Linked DNA regions of Homo sapiens: regions 1 and 3 are each linked to region 2. Evidence: promoter capture Hi-C in 16 types of primary human blood cells and fetal thymus (Javierre and others, 2016). All regions are on one chromosome and are shown on one strand. The core of a region is centred on a gene start or on the middle of the fragment in contact, and the rest is flanking DNA. Distances in the headings are between cores, read along the strand shown.

Region 1 (4,697 bases), core at 21-2,520, 2.9 Mb before region 2:
AGACCCTGCTGGGTGGGGCCTTGCGCTCCATAGCTATGCTTTCTCAGCTCTTAAAAAGTCAGCAATCCTGGGTTAAATTACTCTGTACAAAATTAAATTTTGCCATACGCTAATGTAAGTATTATTTGCAACCAAAGGATGGATGGATGCTTTTCTTTTTCTTTCTTAGCTCTTCTTAACTTATTCGTGGATTATCACTTACTAGACTAGTATACTAATTATTTAATATAAAAACACTCTGAAACGTTTATCTCCGTACAGATGGGTGTTGATTTCCTCCTTTACCAGAGAAAAACAACTTAACTTAGATGGGAAAAATGTATTCCCTTGTGATGGGAAAAATGTATTCAACTCTGGTACACTGCCAAATTGGCTTCTTTAAACACTGGAGAAATCTGCTTCCCCAAATTTTACCCCCAGGTAAGCAGGAATTTTGAAAAGCTTTGTGTCTTTAAAAAGCTATGTTGAAGAGTAAAATACTTAGTAATATATAGTACAATATTTAGTAAGTTACTGACTAGTTTGTCATTGTAATCAAAGAGTTTGAATGATTTCTACACCTCCTCAGGTGCTAGGATTTATCTTTAAGCACCTTAATATATATACATAGTATATACCATCATCTTCAAATTAAAAGTTATCAGCTTTTAATTTTTTCCAGTACAACTACATATAATGGGTGGATATATAATAGTGGAAACTTCACATGTTGTTCTTGATCTTACAAAAGTATGATAAGAATCTTGGGCATAAAAGTGGAACTTTAGCAGTTCATTGGAAAAGAAAGCCACAAATTGATCTTTAGCACCCTATACTTTTCCTATATTAAAAACAATTATAAAGATGCTGTTGGCTGTGTAATTTGGTGTCTTTTTCTACCTGCCCGATCCATACTGCCAAGACTGTAAACTCCATGTGGGTCAGGATCCTCCCATCCATAATTTATTGAGCACTTACTATATACCAGGGACTATTCTCAGCTTTTTGTATATTTGCTTAGTTAACCCTCCCAACAACCCTATGAGTTAGATACTAATATTATCTTCATTTTACAGATTAGGAAACAGAGGTATAGGGAGGTTAAATAACTTGCCCAAAGTTACACAGCTATTAAGGGATAGTCAGGATTCTAGCTTCAGCTGTTCATCTCCAAAGTCCACAGTTTGTTGAATAAATAAATGTTGAAATAATCGAGCAAATCATCTTCTTAACTAACCAACACAAATATCAACAAAATAAATAAGAGACCTGGAGTCATTTCTTAACCTTTATTCATTATATAAAAAAAAGCATGTTTTTTTTTCCTTTGTTTTTGTTACTATGGATTTGAATTCCTAAAGAATTATTTCTAGAGAAAGAAATGGAGAAACAAGACTGGTTTCTGATCTTGTCATATCTTGTATTTTAAAATAAAGGGCAGGCTTACAAGTAATGACAATAAATTTATAATGTTACATAGGAGGCTGGGTGCGGGGGCTCACGCCTGTAATCCCAGCACCTTGGGAGGCCGAGGCAGGCGGATCACTTGTGGCCAGAAGTTCGAGACCAGTCTGGCCAACATGGTAAAACCCCACCTCTGCTAAAAATACAAAAATTAGCTGGGCGTGGTGGCACACGCCTGTAGTCTCAGCTACTCAGGTGGCTGAGGCGAGAGAATCACTTGAACCCAAGAGGCGGAGGTTGCAGTGAGCCAAGATTGTGCCACTGCACTCCAGCCTGGGTGACAGAGTGAGGCTTCATCTCAAAAAAATTAAAAATTAAAAAAAGTCACATATTAGGTGGAAGTTCTATCGACTATAATTACAGCTTAAATGAAAACACTTCTTAAAATCAGCCCTAGTTAAAAAATACTTGAAACCAAACCAATACAATTACCTAAAGGTAATTGCAAGTGATTGGTTAGGTAAACAAATTGGGTTCTAGGTTTTAATATTTTAGTCATATGAATTCATGGGTATTTTTATTGATATAAATAAAAATGTTATTTTAAAAATGCTGTTCTCTGAAGTCAATTTTCAGAACTCAATGAAAATAAAATATACTGGCACAAGACATACTGTTATTAATCCTGGTATCAACAAATTTGAAACCAAGCTTGCAAAGTAGACCATGTAACAAATGTTCAAGAAAAACATTTGAGTACTCAGCTAGGAATCTTTATAGACAAATTTTATTTCATCAGTATTGCAAGAAAAGAATGGAGAGAATGAACATCATGTGTTGTTGGATGACAGGCATACAAGACAGCACAAGGGGTAATTACTCTGTTCTGATTCCACCCATCCTCAGAGAGGCCGAGAATGTTCTACATATTTCAGTTTCATTCTCTTCACAGTGGCCTTGTGAGGTAAATTCAGAGTTAGGCAAAAAGGAAGAGAAAAGAACACAACAAGAAACAAAGAGAGTTACAATTCAGTATTGGCTGTTGGCTTTAAGAGAAGAGAATAAACATCACCACAGCTCCATGACTCCTGTTCACTGTGGAACAGGCTTGAGCAAGCCAAAGAAGAAGGTGGGATTTGCTTTAAAAAGTAGCAGTGGTGTTATATGCAGTAGCAGCACATACCTTCTGCTCTGCCTATTTGGCTGCACCATATCTTTCCCGCTTTAATATGAATAATTGCCTACTTGGGAGGAGGCAACCCAGATGTCCTCTGGTGTCTGGTGATGGCCATAGCATGAGCTATGCTAAGGAGAAGAACATGGATGTGCCTTTTCCCGCCTCGGCCTTACGTGCCACGCTACTGATCTGGTGTTTGCAAAAAAAGGAAACATAGGCCAGGCCTGGTGGCTCATGCCTGTAATCCCAGCACTTTGGGAGGCCAAGACAGGTGGATCTCTTGAGGTCAGGAGTTCAAGACCAGCCTGGTCAACATGGCAAAACCCTGTCTCTGCTAAAAATACAAAAATTAGCTGGGCGTGGTGGCTCTTGCCTGTAGTCCCAGCTGCACGTGAGGCTGAGGCAGGAGAATCGCTTGAACCCAGGTGGCAGAGGTTGCAGTGAGCCGGGGTCATGCCACTGCACTCCAGCCCGGGTGACAGAGCAAGACTCCGTCTCAAAAACAAAACAAAACAAAAAACAGAAGAAACATAGAAATAATAATTGGGAATTTGTTTTTACCTTCACTTTTTTTTCTTTTTTTTTTGAGACGAAGTCTCGCTCTGTCACCCAGGCTGGAGTGCAGCGGCAAGATCTCGGCTCACTGCAAGCTCTGCCTCTTGGGTTCATGCCATTCTCCTGCCTCAGCCTCCCGAGTAGCTGGGACTACAGGCGCCCGCCACCACACCCAGCTAATTTTTTTGTGTTTTTAGTAGAGACGGGGTTTCACCGTGTTAGCCAGGATGGTCTCGATCTCCTGACCTCGTGATCCACCCACCTCGGCCTCCCAAAGTGCTGGGATTACAGACGTGAGCCACCTCGCCCGGCCCTTAACTTATTTTTTATACTTACTAATGGAGGCTTGGAAAATGCAGGATAAAATATCAAACAATCATTCAAAGATTACGATAAACAGGTAACATTTTTACCAATATTTTCTCTCTTATATGTTTGTAAAGGAGTGTGTGTGTGTGTGTGAGAGAGAGTTTTACAATGGATCCTATAGAATACATAATCTTATATCCTGCTTTTTCCACCTAACATTATCAGATAAAACTTTTTCCAAGTCATTAAATCTTTTTCCAAAATGTGATATTTTTCTCCTATGCCTACACAATTTGCAATCAAAGGACTATTCCTTTATTTACATACTCCTTTACTGAGAACATTTAAATTGTTTTCTTCTATAACAGTACAGTGACATCCTTCCTCTACATTTGTATTTATTTCCTTAGGACCTGTTTTCAGAGGTCATTTTTGGTTCAAGTCATTTGAACTTTTTAAGGTTCTTGTGACATGTTGTTGATTGTTTTCTGCAATGCTCGAGCTAGTTTATACTGTCACAGGCACTGAGAGTGTGGATTGGAAGTGCAATTTTCAAGACAGGTGAATATCTGGATTCTGGATGTTCATCAATTGCATATTTCATCACATTCTTCTGAGAGAGAAGGCCTCTCATGTTATGTTCAGCCATAACCACTAACCCATGGGAGTCATCCAATATACTGGATGTCTGCTGTGTCCTGGGCCCCCTGCCTATTGGGCTCTGGGAGTACAACAGCAAAGGACGTGGACATAGACAAATAATCAGACAATAACACGGGGAAAAAGTGCTGAGAGAAGGGAAGGCCAGCTGTTATTAGGATTACCTAAGAAGGTCGCCTAACCTGAACCTGCTAAGTCATGGAGGCTTTGAGTAAAGCTGAGAAACTGAATAGGTGTCAGGCGTGGTGTCAGGAGTAAGCATTATATGATCCACCCTGCTACCGCAGAAATCCAGATTGTTAACCACTTTTCCCTAAAAGTCTGACTTCATTCATGGTGATATGGAGATGGCTTGAGTAGGACTCAGTAGCAAGCAAATATTTACAACAGGTGTTGAGCCTTTTTCAAGTTTGTGCAGGTCCACTGGCCTCTGAACTTGACTTTGACTAGCTTAAGCTCCTGCGGCTCACCCACATTCCCTCCTTGCCTCTGGGCTCCTGCAAGGCCTGGGTCAACCAGTCATGTTTAACTACTGGGATTCACATGCTTGGATTGAAGTTATTTTTCCAGTGCTGCTCTCTCAGAGGTATTTTGCTTGCCTCCCTTGTTTATG
Region 2 (4,708 bases), core at 66-2,565:
CATATCACACACTATGAAAAAAGTTATGTAAACACAGACGGGGTTTTAATGAAACAGCATTCAGAAATTAATCTAGAAGCTTTATTAACACAGCAAATCTGTCCTACCAACTTAATCTGGTCATTCCTTTGAATATAACAGTTATGAAACAAGCATATTCTTCAGCAGGCTTCTCATAAAAAATTCCAGAGATTTTAAAGGAAAGCCTAAGAACTAGACTTTTCTCGTTAAAATGTGAGTTAAATTTAAAGATGTCGTATGGAATGTAGCAGCAATCAATACTGGGAAGCAAAATGTATATAGAAAAAATAAAAAATATATACACAGATTTAACGCAGACACTATCTAAATATCAACGACAGGCTCAAAATACTTTATAAGGATTATGTGTCAACATAAGCCTTTAACATTCGCTCTCTTAAAGCCAAAATGTTTTAAGATTTAGAACCAGAGAACAGGCAGTCTGACGGTCAAAGAGGGGAAATCATTTTTTTCCAGCATCTTCTAATGAAGTCTGTCTCTCACAATTATAAAAACTTTTGCAGGCTGGTCTAAACCGTGAGCTGCCTGGAGAAAGCAGAAGGGAGGTATCCTGAATGAAAGCCAAACCATCTCCATAAATTAATGTCTTCCCTTGACTAGAAAGCATTTCAGGGTAAAAAGCATGTACGAATTCCTCCGTAATATGAAAAGGGGTTGGAGGGCAGGGAATGAAATAGAGAGCGAGGGCACTAAAACATGTTTAGTTAACAGCGCTCAGAAGTCTCCACACAACCCGTATTCCCCTCCATCTCAATCAGACCAGGCTATTCTCTCCTCCTCCGAAGGTTTAGGGGTCAGAAAGAGATGTGGGGTCAAAGTGGCTTCCCCGACAGGTCCCCTCCCTAAGTTTCCCCTCGGCTGAGCCCAGATCTCCGCTCTGAACCGACCTAAGAGCTGGTCTAGGGCTGGGAGCCCGGTTGATACCAGCAGCTGTCCATTCCGCACCGACGGTCGCGTGCCCGCAATGGACACCAGTCGAGGGCCGCTGTCGTTGGTCACGCTGGCTCTAGGACCCCTCCTCTGGAAACTGGTGACGTTGCTCTTGCTGGCTGTCGCCACTGCAGACCCAGTACTCGCGGCAACACTACCGCAGGTTGCCACTGCCGCCATCTTAGAGCCTCCAGTGTTAACCCAATAGGAACTCTGGGAACGCAAACACCCGTCCTATCAGAACCAGTGCCAAACTCCCGCCTCCTCGCCCCAACCGCGGCTCTCGTAACCAATAGGACTGAGACGTCAGTCCCGAGCCAACCAATCGGAAGGCGTATTGCTGAAAAGTGCGCCCTACGAAAGGACGGTCGACTTCGGCGGGGCCCAGGTGAGAAAGGCCCACCTGTGTCCTGGTTGAGGGTCTCCAGGGTTCTTTGGGGCCCGAGGTAGGTAATATCACGTAACGTTCTTCTCCTTTTGAGTGCCTTCATTCACATTGAGTTAAAGAAAAGGTTGGTGAAACAATAAACCCTTAGGGCTTATCAAGCAATTGCTAGCACCTTTCTCCGCTGTGTGTGAGGATAGACTTTTTTCCTGCTCATTTATCTTCTGATTTCTGATAGAAAATTCACTCCGCCTTCCCCACGATGTCTTTTTCTTAATTTTGTGTTATATGGAAAGGATGGGATCTCTTACCTTAATGAGTTGGTTGCTGAGCGTCTGGGCTTAGTTCGTTAGTGCCTAGTGGTAGGTGGTTTGGAATTAAACCTTAGAGCGAAAACTCTTGAACTTTGAGGCTATCTGGTTTTCCTGTGTCTGACAAACTATAGCTCTCTGACAAGTTCCGATAAGAAGCTTTTGTTAATTTTAATTAGTGTTTCTGGAAGTCTTGGATGTCTTTCCTAAGCGGTGTAAATGACAAGTGTTACTCTGACAACCTTGTTCACACATTTAATTGTCGTTTGCTGTTAAAGCAGCTGCAAATAACAGAAAATACTTAGGGTTTCTTTCCCCCAAAAAACTGCTAGGAAGAATTAGAAGTATACCTACTTTATTTTATGAACCCTGAATCGAGAGTTTATTACTAAAATACCAATTTTATGTGTGGAAAAAACATGTATTTTGAGTTGTATTTTTGTATTTAATTTTTTTTTCAAAACTGAGCAGGGACAGTGGGTAACTGATGTTTAAAGGCAATCATGATTGACAAATGTCTAAATTGAAAAGGACTCCCAAATCATTACCGCACTACTGAGTTATTGACTTTGACAGTGATCTGTGATACCTTTTAATTAGAGCCAAACCTCATTGAAATTCTTGCCATCGAATTGTTTTAAATCTCACTGACCTGTTGAAATTTTTGGGCTGATTCTGTTTGATAAATTGAAATTAGTATTGCTAAATAGTGACTGGAGTTTTTCATTTGGGGAGGATTTTTGTTTGTTTGCTTGTTTTTTAGAATCATGTTTAGGAAAAAACCCTGTTTCACAATATATCAACTGGAAAGCTTTGATCAAGGTTGCTTTCATATTGAATCTTTAAGTTACTCAATAAATAGCTGTTGAGTGATTACTGTCTGTTTGGACTTAATCTTGTCATTTTAGACCTATGGTAATAAAAATGGTCTCACCTGGAGGAGATAAAATTAACACATAGAAAACAACATAGTACTTAAAATGAACACATTAAATAGCATGTGCTAATTTTATCCTGTAGTAAATAAGCACTAGGAAGACCAAAAGAAAAAGTGACAAAGCAGTCCAATATCAGATAGAAACGTCTTGAATTTTTTTTTTCTTCAACTTTTGTTTTAGGTTCTGGGCTTCATGTGCAGGTTTGTTACATAGGTAAACGTGTGCTGTGGTGGTTTGCTGCACAGATCAACCCACCACCTCGGTATTAAGCCCAGCATCCATTAGCTATTCTTCCTGATGCTCTCTGTCCCCCCACCCCTACAAATATTTTTGATGCTGTGAACTTTTTGAAATGCTACATATAATTATTATTTTTTGACAGATGGCATTGTTTTGTGTACCTCATGATGCTATGAAGTGTATGTACATTCCGGAATCGTTAAATCTAGCTAATTAGCAATGCATTACCTCACATAGTTATCATTTTTGTGGTAAGAGTACATAACATCTACACTGTTTACATTTTTTTAAAGAATACAATATATGATTATTAACTATAGTCAGCTTGCTATAAATTCATGTTATATAATAGATTTCTTGAAATTTATTCCTCCTATCTAACTGATATTATGTATCTTTGACCAAATTCTCCCCATCCCCCCTGCCAACCATCCTGGCCTCTGGTAAACACCATTGTACTCTCTGTGCGATGAACTATTAGATTCCACCTATGAGTAAGATCATGTGATATTTGTCTTTCTGTGTCTGACTTATTTCACTTAACATAATGGTATAATTCGTTTTTATAGGCTTCTGTATTACATATTCCCTTGTTTCCTACTGTATTTACTTAACCCTTTAGATTTCCCAAGATGATGATAGTGGTGCTTTGTTTGCCTCATTACTAGAACTGAAGAATTATTTTCCAACTTTGACTTGGACTATAATTCTGGAAAGATGATCTATATACACACCAGAGTATTCATGAAATTAGGATATATATCTGGTATAACACTATCGTAGGATAAATATGCTTTTGTTTTTTTTTTCTGAGACGGAGTCTAGGTGTGTTCCCCGGGCTGGAGTGCAGTGGCGCGATCTCGGCTCACTGCAAGCTGTGCCTTCCTGGGTTCACACCATTCTCCTGCCTCAGCCTCCCGAGTAGCTGGGACTACAGGCGCCCGTCACCACGCCCTGCTGATTTTTTGTATTTTTAGTAGAGATGGGGTTTCACCGTGTTAGCCAGGATGGTCTCAGTCTCCTGACCTCGTGATCCGCCCACCTCGGCCTCCCAAAGTGCTGGAATTACAGGTGTGAGCCAGCGCGTCAGCCAAATATGGGTTTTTTGTTTGTTTGTTTTTTGTTTTCTTTTTAGACGGAGTCTCGCTCTGTTGCCAGGCTGGAGTGCAGTGGCATGATCTCGGCTTACTGCAACCTCCGCCTCCTGGGTTCAAATGATCCTCCTGCCTCAGCCTCCTGAGTAGTTGGGACTACAGGCATGCACCACCATGCCCAGCTAATTTATGTATTTTGAGTAGAGACAGGCTTTCACCATGTTGGCCAGGATGGTCTCAATCTCTTGACCTTGTGATCCACCCGCCTCGGCTTCCCAAAGTGTTGAGATTACAGGTGTGAGCCACCGCGCCCAGCCGCCTTTTTTTTTTTTTTTTTTAACAAAGATAAAATCTTTGCTCCCAAATAATTTCAAATTCTTGAACTTACCAGCAAGTAGCAGAGTTGAATATAAAACACGAGAATAAATAAAGTATTCATGGAAAGGAAGAGTTAAAAGTTATATGTTGGCTGGGCACAGTGACTCATGCGTGTAATTCCAGCACTATGGGAGGACGAGGCGTGCAGATCACAAGGTCAGAAGATCGAGACCTTCCTGGCTAACATGGTGAAACCCCGTCTCTACTAAAAAATACAAAAAAATTAGCTGGGCATGGTGGCGGGCTTCTGTGGTCCCAGCTGCTCAGGAGGCTGAGGCAGGAGAATGGGGTGAACCCGGGAGGCAGAGCTTGCAGTGAGCCGAGATTGCGCCACTGCACTCCAGGCCTGGGCGACACAGCGAGACTGTGTCTCAAAAAAAAAAAAAAAAA
Region 3 (4,837 bases), core at 691-3,190, 2.2 Mb before region 2:
GAAGCTCCAACAGGATGGTACTTAATGGGGCATTTGAGTGGAGAGGTAGGTGACATAGTGCTTTGGAGCCCAGGGAGGGAAAGGTTCTGCTGAAGTTGAATTCAAGACTGTTCTTTCATCACAAACTTGAGTTTCCTGGACATTTGTTTGCAGAAACAACCGTAGGGTTTTGCCTTAACCTCGTGGGTTTATTATTACCTCATAGGGACTTTGCCTCCTGACAGCAGTTTATGGGTGTTCATTGTGGCACTTGAGTTTTCTTGCATACTTGTTAGAGAAACCAAGTTTGTCATCAACTTCTTATTTAACCCCCTGGCTATAACTTCATGGATTATGTTATAATTAAGCCATCCAGAGTAAAATCTGTTTAGATTATCTTGGAGTAAGGGGGAAAAAATCTGTAATTTTTTCTCCTCAACTAGATATATACATAAAAAATGATTGTATTGCTTCATTTAAAAAATATAACGCAAAATCTCTTTTCCTTCTAAGGGCCTTTAATATGTAATAACAAGAGCTAATGTTGAACACAAGCCATTGCCAGGTACTTAAACTGTCTCACTTAGTCTTGCCAACCTAAGCAAGTAGATGCCATTACTATTCCCATTATATTGATGAAAAAATGAGGTTGAGAAAGGTTCAGCCGCACAGCCAAATACATAGTGGATCCAGGGTTTGGTCCCAAGTCTTGAGTCCAAAACCCTGGTTCTTACCATTACTGTGGTTCTGTAGGGGTGAAAAAATTTTTCTTCTAATCTCTTAGGTTCAGAGCCTGGGGCCTGAGAATTAAACTGACAAAGACAGATTAACAGAAGACAAAGTTTATTACGCAGGTACATGGGGTTCTTACAGAAACAAAGTGAAAACCCAAAGAAGTGGCTTGAGAGCTTATATACAATTTTAACAATGGGCGATTGTAGAAAAGTGATAAGACAAAGGAAAAGAGGTTTGAGCTTCTTGGGCAGTAAATTATGGGAAGTTAAATATGTGGGGGAAACTAATGGAAGATAAGGGTATTTTTTATTTTATTTTATTTTATTTATTTTGAGACAGGGTCCTGCCTTGTCACCCAGGCTGGAGTGCAGTGCTATGATTGTGGCTCACTGCAGCCTCAACCTCAGCCTCCTTGGTTCAAGAAATCCTCCCACTTCAGCTCCTGAGTGGCTCCAGGCAAATGCCACCACACCTGGTTAATTTTTTAAATTATTTTATAGAGACAGAATCTCGCTATGTTGCCCCTGGCTGTTCTCAAACTCTTGGCCTCAAGAGATCCCACCTCAGACTCCCAGAGTGCTGGGATTACAGGCTGGGTGCTGAGCTATCGCACATGGCCTGTATTAGCCATAGACTGAGGGGAAATACATTTTCTTGAGAGCCTCAGCCTAGTGATCACTTGTATGAATAAACAATGATGGGTGGCTGCCAAAGTCAGAGAGCAAATACTGCGTGTGACAACTAAGTGTGGGAAGCTCAGTGTGGGAAGAAAAAGCTTCCCAGTTTCAGACATGCCCCTTAGTAGGGACAGCTGCCTCTTGTGTTTGGACAAAGTGTCCAAGTTCAAGTGTTTCACACACACACTGTTCCGTCTTCTGTTTGATCACAACCCTATGAGGCAGCCTGGTTTTCTTATTTCTATTTTATGGAAAACCTACTTAAAAGTCAAGCAACTTGTCCAAGGCTACCCAGCTTGAATATCTGACTCTCTCCACTTTGCTGCTACACACACACACACACACACACACACACTTTGCACTGTGTGTGCAGATACATATGCATATATATATTTAACTTGTGAAGCTGATACTGACTCTTTAACTGCCCTCCACCCATCACTAGTCATACCAGTGATCATTAGGCAGAGGCTCTCAAGAAAATGTATTAGTTATTTCCCCTCAGTCTATGGCTAATACAGGTTACTCACATAAATGAGCTGTCATGTCCTTTGGACAAAATGTCCAAATCGCTCATAAGCAATGGGTGAAGTATTTGAGGTAGGGCGGACAGGATTTCCTTTTGGTGGTTAGCTCGTTGCCTGTTAGCTCCTGGTGATATCTGTGTTTGGAAGAGAACTAAACTGCATTTCACTGAAAACACTCCTTCAGGTCTATTACAAACCAGATGAGGATCCCCTTTTCTAGAATCTTCCTCAACACTGCTAACGTTTGGCAGATACATAGGTTGGCTCTAACAGCCATTCCCAATCAATCCTCTTCTCCTTTGTCTGCCTCCCACAGTAGTGGATGAAAAATCAGACACTGATTTTCTCAGACTTCTTTGCTGTGGGCGCGGCCAGTGAGGCAATGAGGTAAGTCTGCTGGTGCAGGGGCCAGGTTTCTAGGAAATACTTTTCTCCCTCATGGGAGAAAGAGAGGAAGCCTGAAGTAAGCTTTCTTCTGCAGCCCTGGCCCGCTGCCTGTTCTGGATGAGGGTATGCTGGGATATGACAACGGAAGCCAGCGGGGTCGCAGAGCAAGAGCGAGGCGGTGGGCGGAGTCGAGGGACGGGAGGCGAGGCGAGGCGAGCCAGGGGGCGTGGCTTTCTAACTGCGGGGTGCGGCCAGCCGAGGTGGGCGGGGCCGCGTTCCGGGACGTGGTCGTCCGGGCTTTGGAACCCCGCCTGTTAGGGGCCGGGCTGAGGCGAAAGGGTGGGGCCGCGCTCCATCGGGGCGGGGCTTGTGGAACCTCGAAACCCCGGCGACTCGGGGCCTGAGCGCGCGTCTCCCGGCGCGGGGTTCCTCCCACGCAGACCCTCATTCAAACGATGCCAAAGGGGCGGCGCGGCAGCCACAGCCCCACCATGAGCCAGCGGTCGGCTCCGCCCCTCTATTTCCCGTCCCTGTACGACCGCGGCATCTCCTCGTCCCCGCTCAGCGACTTCAACATCTGGAAGAAGCTCTTCGTGCCGCTGAAGGCGGGCGGGGCGCCAGTGGGCGGGGCGGCGGGGGCCCGGTCCCTGTCCCAGGCGCTCCCCGCCCCGGCGCCCCCGCCCCCGCCACCACCCGGCCTGGGTCCCTCCAGCGAGCGCCCCTGGCCCTCGCCCTGGCCCTCCGGCCTGGCCTCCATCCCCTACGAGCCTCTGCGCTTCTTCTACTCACCGCCGCCGGGGCCTGAGGTGGTTGCCTCGCCCCTGGTCCCCTGCCCCTCGACCCCCAGGCTCGCCTCTGCCTCCCACCCGGAGGAGCTCTGCGAGCTGGAGATCCGGATTAAGGAGCTGGAGTTGCTCACCATCACTGGGGACGGCTTCGACTCCCAGAGCTGTGCGTGACCTCGCCAGGGCCACCGAGCCCAGCCTTAGCCTGCCCTAGCTCCCTCCTTGGCTCCGTGCCCCGACCCGAAATGTAGCCTGGTTTGACTCCAGCCCCCAGTAGTCCCAGATCCAAAATCTATCCCCTAGCACCCAGACTCCCTTATCCTGGACTTAACCGACTCCTCCCCCCACCACAGATCTGAACTTCATGAGCCTCTTAGTCCCAAACTCCATCCTCCCTCCGTCCTAAACCCTTTGGGTCATCTGGACTCTGAGCCTCCACACCTGGAACTCCATCCGCCACCACCCCGTCCTGAACTTTAATCCTCCTGCACAGTCATCCTCCTACCCTGTACTCTGGAGCTCCACCCACCACAGACAGTCCCTAAGCTTTAATGTTCGGTCCTAAACCGGGGCTCTCCATGGGGGGAAGGTGAAGTAAGGTGACTGTCAGTTGTCTGTAGGGGGAGGTGGGAGTTGTGCAAGAACCACAAGGCCCAAGGCCGTTTCCAGGGCAGCTTTGGGACACTCCACTTCTCAATGCTGGGGGGCAGCCCCCCTGGGACTCTGTGGCCTTGGCGCCGGTAGTTCTCTCACCAGGATCCTGGGCTGATATCTGGTCTTACGTCTGAAGTCTTAGGGCTCTGGACCACGTGTGCTGATGCGGGCAGGATCCCTCAGCCTACGAGCTGAATGACTCCTCCCTGTTGGAGGGTAAAGTTGTTAAATGCCTTGTACTCCAAGAAGGACCTATTGCAAAGTAGAACTTTCAGTAGCGGTAGGTTGTCCTGCAGACTTTGTCTTTCCCATCACTTGTTTTGGCTAAGGCTTGTCCTTGACCACTGGAGAAGGGCAGATAGTTCTAAAAAGATCATTCCAACTATCGTATATAACGGCTTAAGTTGGCTTCCCCTGCCACACAGAGAAGGGAAGTATGAAATAACCTAAATGCTTAGGTCCGTGTGGCCATGGAAATGGTCTTCAGTTCATCAGACACACTGTAATGCACCCTTTCTCATAGCCATGGAAGGAAGACAGTCCCTAGAAAAACTGGGCTTTGCTAAGTCCTGGATTTCTTAACTATGAATACATACATAATACTATGTATTCATAGTTAAGAAATCTTAACCGAATACATAGTTAAGAAATCCAGGGGCCGGGTGTGGTGGCTGGCACTTGTAATCTCAGCACTTTGGGGGGGCCAATGCGGGTGGATCATTTGAGGTCAGGAGCCTGACCAACAAGAGGATCATTGAGGACCAGCCTGACCAACATGGTAAAACCCTGTCTCTACTAAAATACAAAAATGAGCCGGGCTTGGTGGCACACATTTGTAATCTCATCTACTCGGGAGGATGAGGCAGGAGAATCGCTTGAACCCAGGAGGCCGAGGTTGCAGTAAGCCAAGATTGTGCCACTGCACTCCAACCTGGGTGAAAGAGTGAGACTCCCTCTCAAAAAAAAAAAAAAAAAAAAAAAATTAGAAGAAGAAGAAATCCAGGACTTAGCAACTCTGACTGTAAAAACACATGTAACTGGATGTGTTGCATGTACAGTCAGAACCAGTTACATGTTTTTACAGTCAGAGTTT

The links. The method cuts DNA at HindIII sites, captures the fragments that hold promoters and counts their contacts. A CHiCAGO score of 5 or more calls a contact.
Region 1: a contact is called between a fragment that was not itself captured here and the fragment with the promoter of IMMP1L in region 2, in 1 of 17 cell types (fetal thymus). The highest score is 5.0, in fetal thymus.
Region 3: a fragment that was not itself captured here is called in contact with the fragment with the promoter of IMMP1L in region 2 in 1 of 17 cell types (non-activated CD4 T cells); the score reaches 5.8 in non-activated CD4 T cells.

What each region holds. Positions count from the first base shown.
Region 1 is chr11:34,433,888-34,438,584 of GRCh38, reverse strand. It overlaps LOC105376622 (a long non-coding RNA gene), which reads right to left. Exons shown (of 3, transcript XR_931180.3): 3 at 2,263-2,339. Among named protein-coding and RNA genes, the nearest start is that of CAT, 2.7 kb to the left of the region's middle. The HindIII fragment of the contact is 1,653 bases long and covers 444-2,096 here.
Region 2 is chr11:31,506,229-31,510,936 of GRCh38, reverse strand. It overlaps IMMP1L (inner mitochondrial membrane peptidase subunit 1), which reads left to right and starts at 1,315. Exons shown (of 6, transcript NM_001304274.2): 1 at 1,315-1,418. It overlaps ELP4 (elongator acetyltransferase complex subunit 4), which reads right to left and starts at 1,170. Exons shown (of 10, transcript NM_019040.5): 1 at 930-1,170. The coding sequence starts at 1,152. RefSeq lists enhancers at 866-1,155, 288-1,177. The HindIII fragment of the contact is 1,748 bases long and covers 82-1,829 here.
Region 3 is chr11:33,698,664-33,703,500 of GRCh38, reverse strand. C11orf91 (chromosome 11 open reading frame 91) reads left to right here and starts at 2,675. Exons shown (of 2, transcript NM_001166692.2): 1 at 2,675-3,256. The coding sequence starts at 2,761. It overlaps CD59 (CD59 molecule (CD59 blood group)), which reads left to right. Exons shown (of 4, transcript NM_000611.6): 4 at 1-491. RefSeq lists silencers at 2,500-2,739, 2,920-3,009. The HindIII fragment of the contact is 897 bases long and covers 1,492-2,388 here.